2 separate regions of the Homo sapiens genome follow, and region 2 is linked to region 1. Evidence: promoter capture Hi-C in 16 types of primary human blood cells and fetal thymus (Javierre and others, 2016). All regions are on one chromosome and are shown on one strand. The core of a region is centred on a gene start or on the middle of the fragment in contact, and the rest is flanking DNA. Distances in the headings are between cores, read along the strand shown. Region 1 holds the start of H2AC15 (H2A clustered histone 15). Region 2 has its middle 9.6 kb from the start of TRV-CAC6-1.

What was found. Contacts are between HindIII fragments. The CHiCAGO score rates a contact against its expected background, and 5 or more counts as called.
Region 2: a contact is called between a fragment that was not itself captured here and the fragment with the promoter of H2AC15 in region 1, in 1 of 17 cell types (naive CD8 T cells). The highest score is 5.2, in naive CD8 T cells.

The regions. Positions count from the first base shown.
Region 1 is chr6:27,836,792-27,840,278 of GRCh38, reverse strand. H2AC15 (H2A clustered histone 15) reads left to right here and starts at 1,904. Exons shown (of 1, transcript NM_003510.3): 1 at 1,904-2,399. The coding sequence starts at 1,940. The coding sequence ends at 2,332. H2BC15 (H2B clustered histone 15) reads right to left here and starts at 1,710. Exons shown (of 1, transcript NM_003520.4): 1 at 1,169-1,710. The coding sequence starts at 1,617. The coding sequence ends at 1,237. RefSeq lists enhancers at 1,459-1,668, 1,999-2,088, 2,159-2,268, 2,539-2,588, 2,659-2,748 and 3 more. The HindIII fragment of the contact is 16,643 bases long and covers 1-3,487 here.
Region 2 is chr6:27,194,791-27,198,277 of GRCh38, reverse strand. No RefSeq gene overlaps it. Among named protein-coding and RNA genes, the nearest start is that of TRV-CAC6-1, 9.6 kb to the left of the region's middle. The HindIII fragment of the contact is 877 bases long and covers 1,101-1,977 here.

The DNA of each region.
Region 1 (3,487 bases), core at 655-3,154:
TACTTTTAAATATGCCACTCCTAAGTGTTTAAAATGAAGACACTCATTTTGATTTCCTGAGTTGGGGGTGGGGGAAAACAATGGAGAACAGCCCTTCTCCTCCTCTATTTTTTTTTCTTTTAACATTTCTTCCAATTACTAGAGATACAGTAAACGCAAGTGACACAGACAAGAAAACATGGAGCAGACCCTAACAGAAAAAGTAGGGAATAGAAACTATGTTCATAAATAGGAATTCCACACAAGAGAATTATGGGAATGAGTAAGACAGCAAGATTCCTCCAAAAAACCTGCACTGCCAAGAATTTTCCCAACTAGAACACTCACCAGAGAAAACGGTGGCCAAGTTTCAAACTGCCCTCGCAGTGTCGGGATTGGCCATTGACATCAACTCAGCCCGATTGACGTGTACGGTGCTGTAAACTGGGTTCAAACTTTTTTCTACTGCCTTTCTATCTTAATATTTAGCAAATCCAAACTGGGGACAAGGGAGGAGAAACAGCACCACTCTCAAAACAAACAAGTCGATTTGTACGTTTGTGTGTGTGCCAACTGCTTCATTACTAAAGTACACATGAAGTTTAGGGACAGAGCGCCGGAAGCACTGTGGATATTTTACCAGTGACACTTAAGTATTATATTTTCTTTGGGGTCAACAGGAACTGAATTTTCCCTTTACTAGGTTTGTCTGATGATAAACCTCATCCTTCTTCAGATATAAAATTGTCTCAAGCGTTGCTGCAACATGCAGTACACTGCAGTGCTAATTAATTTCTTTTCTTTTTCTTTCTTTTTTGAGACAGAGTTTCGCTCTTACTGCCCAGGCTGGGGTGCAATGGCCCGATCTCGGCTCACTGCAACCTCCATCTGCCGGGTTCAAGCGATTCTCCTGCCTCAGCTTCCCGGGTAGCTGGGATTACAGGCGTCCGCCACCACGCCCAGCTATTTTTTTGTACTTTTAGTAGAGACGGGTTTCACCATGTTGGCTAGGCTCGTCTCGAACTTCTAACCTCAGGTGAGCCACCCGCTTCGGTTTCCCGAACCGGGATTAGAGGCTTGAGCCAAAATTAGTTTCTAACAAGGCTAAAGGAATCTTGGAAATCGTCTTTGTAGCAAGTAAGAAATACCTGCTGTAAGAACAGTGAGTGCCAGTTCTCTTTGGGAAGACTGAGTGGCTCTGAAAAGAGCCTTTGGGGTGTGGGCCGAGACTGACCGAACGTTCCGCGGTGGGCGGGCTCACTTGGAACTGGTGTACTTGGTGACGGCCTTGGTGCCCTCCGACACCGCGTGCTTGGCCAGCTCCCCTGGCAGCAGCAGGCGCACGGCCGTCTGGATCTCCCTGGAGGTGATGGTCGAGCGCTTGTTGTAATGCGCCAGGCGGGAAGCCTCGCCGGCGATGCGCTCGAAGATGTCATTGACGAAGGAGTTCATGATGCCCATGGCCTTGGACGAGATACCGGTGTCGGGGTGGACCTGCTTCAGCACCTTGTACACGTACACGGAGTAGCTCTCCTTGCGGCTGCGCTTGCGCTTCTTGCCGTCCTTCTTCTGGGCCTTTGTCACTGCCTTCTTGGAGCCTTTCTTCGGGGCAGGAGCGGACTTTGAGGGCTCGGGCATGACTGGGAGTAACTGCCGGAAAATTGGAGGAAAAAAACAGGAAGACGGTAGCTCTGTCAACCTACCGCTTATTCACTGCTTCTTAACGCAAGTGGGGTAGAGAATGAAGTTGTGCGTTTAACCAGTGGTGAGTCCTGGAAACGTATATTAACTTTGTCCAATCAAAATAAGTGTTTTTCAAAACCGCAATCCCATTGGTTAAAGCGAAACTGTAATGTTAGCCAATAGCACAGCTTAGTTTTCGTGCCTCTGTTGACTATAAGTAGCGGAGCTTTAGCGTTACGTCAGTCTCAGGAACGTTACTGATTGAATTTTTTACGTCATGTCGGGACGTGGCAAGCAGGGCGGCAAAGCTCGCGCCAAGGCTAAGACCCGTTCTTCAAGGGCGGGTCTTCAGTTCCCAGTGGGCCGAGTGCACCGACTGCTCCGCAAGGGCAACTACGCTGAGCGGGTCGGTGCCGGAGCGCCGGTGTACCTGGCGGCGGTGTTGGAGTACCTAACCGCCGAGATCCTGGAACTGGCTGGCAACGCGGCCCGCGACAACAAGAAGACCCGCATCATCCCGCGCCACTTGCAGCTGGCCATCCGCAACGACGAGGAGCTCAACAAGCTGCTTGGTAAAGTGACCATCGCCCAGGGTGGTGTCCTGCCCAATATCCAGGCCGTGCTGCTGCCTAAGAAAACTGAGAGCCACCACAAGGCCAAGGGCAAGTAGCGGGGCTGGAGCAGTTCATTACTCATACCTCGGTCCAAACCAAAAAGGTTCTTTTCAGAGCCACCTACTTTTTCACCAAGTAGAGCTGTGTTCAGTTTTATCTGATAGTCGAGTCATTTTGCAATGGCACTGGAATGCTGTATGGAGATGAAGCAAAACTAAACGGCTTTTACACCACATTGTTTTGAGATAGAAAGTAGACATTGAAATGTTTACGGTACATCAAGAAATTTAGGCGCGGCAGCTCGCGCCTGCAATACAGCTGAAACAATAAGAAAAGTGAGGCAAGAGAATAACAAAGGGAGCTGAAAGTTAGAGGGCAGAATAAGTAAAAGCAAAGGGCAGAAGTAAGGTAGATGGGCGGGTGAACAAGAAGCGAGATAACAAGCAGTGAACCTTTTGCAGCCGAAACAAAAGAGATAATGTGAGCAAGGACCTCGTGGCCGGCAAGATCTGGAACAAACCAGTTTAAGAGGCAGCTCTTCAGAGATGGGCATGCGTATTAGAGAGGAAAAGTATCCTTAACAAAAGCCCGTATGATAATCAGCTACTTAAGGTTCATGCATATGGGCTACATATCATGCATATATTTAAGATTATAAGATAGAGGCACAAGCCACAGAGGACAAAGTAAGCAACAAACCTATCAATAAAAGGGCAGATGCTGGCTATAGATTAGGCAGCACTGGGAACAGAAAACATACACACACGCACGCACACACATAAAATGACTCAAACTACAGCAAGCTGACGCTGATCTCACCTCGCAGAGGTCAGTCCGCTCTCTCCCACCCCCGAGAGTGTAATACTCTGTTTACTAAACTTTTGCTGCTTTGCTTTGCTATCTGTGTGTGTGTCGTCCAATTTCTACCGGGCACCAAGAGCCTGGAACTGTTTGGCACCATCCGGTAAACAGAACCGCTTTGGGAAGCCGAGGCGGAAGGACCGCTAGAGCCTTGGAGTTCGAAGCCAGCCTGATCTTTACAAAAGTAAAATAACTAACCGTGCCTGGCGTCTCATAGCCTGTAGTCCTAGCTACTCGGGAGGCTGAGACCAGAAGGATCACTTGAGCCCAGGAGTTCGAGGCTGCAATGAGCTATGATTGCACCACTGCAGTCCAGCTTGTGTGACAGAGCAAGAGTGTTTCAAATGAAC
Region 2 (3,487 bases), core at 290-2,789, 640 kb after region 1:
GATTACAGGTGCATGCCACCACGCCCATTTAATTTTTTGAATTTTATTAGAGATGGGATTTCACCATGCTAGCCAGGATGGTCCTGATCTCCTGACCTCGTGATCTGCCCACCTCGGCCTCCCAAAGTGTTGGGATTACAGGCATAAGCCACTGCACCTGTCTTTTTTTTTTTTTTTTTTTTTTTTTTGACGGAGTGTCAATCTGTTGTCCAGGCTGGAGTGAAGTGGTGTGATCTCTGCTCACTGCAACCTCCACCTGCCTTCTGGGTTTGAGCGATTCTCCCACCTCAGCCTCTCCAGTAGCTGGAACTACAGGCGTGGCACATCACACCTGGCTAATTTTTGTATTTTTAGAAGAGAAGGGGTTTCACCATGTTGGTCAGGTTGGTCTTGAACTCCTGACCTGAAGTGATCTGTCCGTGGTGGCCTCCCAAAGTGCTGAGATTACAGTTGTGAGCCACAGCGCCCGGCCAAGAAGATCTTTCATAAGGTAAAATAAAGATACTCCCTAGGTGGAGAAGACCATCTGGATACTTAAGCAATTATTAAGAAGTCATGAGTGCTCTGGATTTTGAGGTCTGGAAGAGTGGAGGAGAGACCACGTGTGGTTTGGGGGCCATTATGACCACAGTAAAGAATAGACTGGATCAGCCGGGCGCGGTAGCTCACGCCTGTAATCCTACCACTGTGGGAGGCTGAGGCGGGCAGATTGCCTGAGTTCAGGAGTTCGAGAACAGCCTGGACAACACGGTGAAATGCCATCTCTACTAAAATACAAAGTATTAGGTAGGTGTGGCAGCATGCGCCTGTAGTCCCAGCTACTCCAGAGGCCAAGGCAGGAGAATTGCTTGAACCTGGGAGGCGGAGGTTGCAGTTAGCTGAGATCGTGCCACTGCACTCCACCCTGGGCGACAGAGCGAGACTCTCTCTCCAAAAAAAAAAAAAAAGACTAGACTGGATCATGTCACGTTCTCAGTAAACATCTGTGTAATCAATGGACACTATTAAAGGTAACTTTCTGAAATGTAAACAAATGCTTATGTGACATCCTGTCACTCTTCATGTGACCAGCAGATTCATCTAGAAGTCTAAGTAAAGCTTAGGAATGCACTTGTAGGTAGTTAGCCGTTTCACTTCTTGATGTTTTTGTGTCATCATGTTGACATTATTTGTGACTTTGCATAACTTAAATATAAGAACAATAATGGCTATCTCAATATCCATTGGATCAATGAGGTGTGATTTAAAGTTTACCTAAAACAACATGCAAAGCACCTGGCATGAAGTGGACCCTCAAACGGTTAGTTTTCTAAGTGAGAGTGGCTAGGCTGTTGCTATGTATCTTAAAGGAAATAGTTTCAAGACATGACAAAAGGCATTTTGGCACAGAAATCAGGAAATGTATTTAAAAATACACCCCACTGAATTCCATTTCTGGTTAAGTTGTAGAAAATTGCAAGAGTCTGTTTCTCTCTATTTAATAACTAAAGCAAGAGCATAAGCTACAAAATAGTAGATTTTCTGAACCCACCAGGGAATTGATACAAAGGAATCTAATCAAATTCCACCTAGAAAGAGGTCTTCATATGAGAAAAGAGGTTTCTAGCTGCCCTTGTTCCTGGCAGATGGGCAGACAAGCAGAGGAAGAGAAACCCTTGAATACTAAATGAGGGAAAAAGCCATCAAAACTCCAAAAGATTTTTAAGATTTGCCTGTGGGCCTACTTGACCCAAGCACAGAATTCCAAGTAGCCAAAAAACCACTGCCAGTTGTCTCTGCTAGAGGAGAGCATCCCAAAAGAAGGTGAATGGGCAGGCTGGAAAGTGGAGAGGAATATCCACTGAGGCATCCTCAGGTGCAAAGTCTTTTGAAGTTGGTGAGCACAGCCACAAAACTAAGAGAAATCAATCTAGCGCACTTTGTATTTCTGCTGCCAAGTACCAGGACTGGAGAGCTGAGAGAAGCCCCTCCAAAGCTTTCTAAGTGGAGAGAGATCTTTGTTGGGGACCAGCCTCAACACCACCCATAGGGTAGTTAAAGTCTTTGTGGCGACGAAGGAATGAGAAGAGACAGGTTTAAAGTGTATAAAGAGTGGGGGCCAGGGGGCCAATTGCAAAATGGAGGCTGCAAAAGGCACCAAGCTCCAGTCTCCACACTATTTATTGAGTACAATCACTTACATCTAAGAAGCAGACGTTTAGGGCGAAACGGTGAAAGGGAGGCAGTGTGTTATAGGCATAATCTATAGCAATAGCGGTTTAAATGAATCTCCTTTGTGCCCAAACATCGTATCTATAACTTATCGGAGTGTAGCTAGTGGGAGCGGGCTTAACTAGGAGCCTGCACGTCTGTCTACATTCCAATGCTTCAAAGGAGTGTCTTTCTTCTTGAACACAGTGTTTATAGATAAGAGAGCAGGTTGCACTCAGAGCATGGGAACATAATGGCGATAAGAAGGCTTTCCTCTTCAGAGGCCTCTTGTGGCTTTCCACAACTTATTGTCTCATATTTTTATGGCCAGCTTATGCAGGCACCCCACAAGCCTTTTTCCCAATATGCCCCACTTTTTTTAAAAACCACCATTGTTATTAAGGCTTGTTCGTGGTGTCTGGTCTCTCTCTAGAGGTGTCTTCTGTATTTGTAGACTAAAAGCAAACAGTATAAACAGATACACATTAAAGCAAAATTTGCAATAGTTGATCCTCTAATGGTCTTAATCCATTTAAGAGGGTTTATGTCTGAAAGTCCATCAGTAGCTTCAGTGAGAATGTCAGTCCCAGGCAGGAGAGTTAAATGAGCCTGAGATGCTTTAAAAACCTGGTCTTTTAATTTGGCCTTATCTAATGTGGGCAGAAAGCCACCCAGGTGCTGAGGCAAGAGACTGAAGGCACAACCTCTTCCAGTATAATAAAGAAAATAATTATGATAAGAAAAAGTTATTTTAGAAATAGAATACAGAGGTGATTATAATGGATATTATTAATCATTAGTTTTTAGTATTAATCTTTGTATTATTATTATTACCAAAGAAAAACCAGGCCGTACAGAGTTAGGAGCTGAAGGGACATTGTGAGAAGTGACCAGAAGACGAGAGTGTGAGCCCTCTGTCACGCCCAGATAAGGGCCGCTTGAGGGCTCCTTGGTCTAGCAGTAGTGCCAGTGCCTGGGAAGGCACCCGTTACTTAGCAGACCTTGGTCTAGCAGTAGTGTCAGTGCCTTGGAAGGCACCTGTTACTTAGCAGACTGGGAAAGGGAATCTCTCTTTCCTTGGGGGAGTTAGAGAACACTCTGCTCCACCAGCTCTTGTTGGAGGCCTGACATTAGCCAGGCCTGCCCACAGTCATCCGGAGGCTTAGCCGTCTCCCTGGGGTGCTGTGCTTCAAAGGTCACACTCCTTGTCCACTTTCATGTTCTGCCTGTACACCTGGCTCCTCCTTTTAAGTTCTTAGAAGATAGCAGTAGCAGAATTAGTGAAAGTATTAAAGTC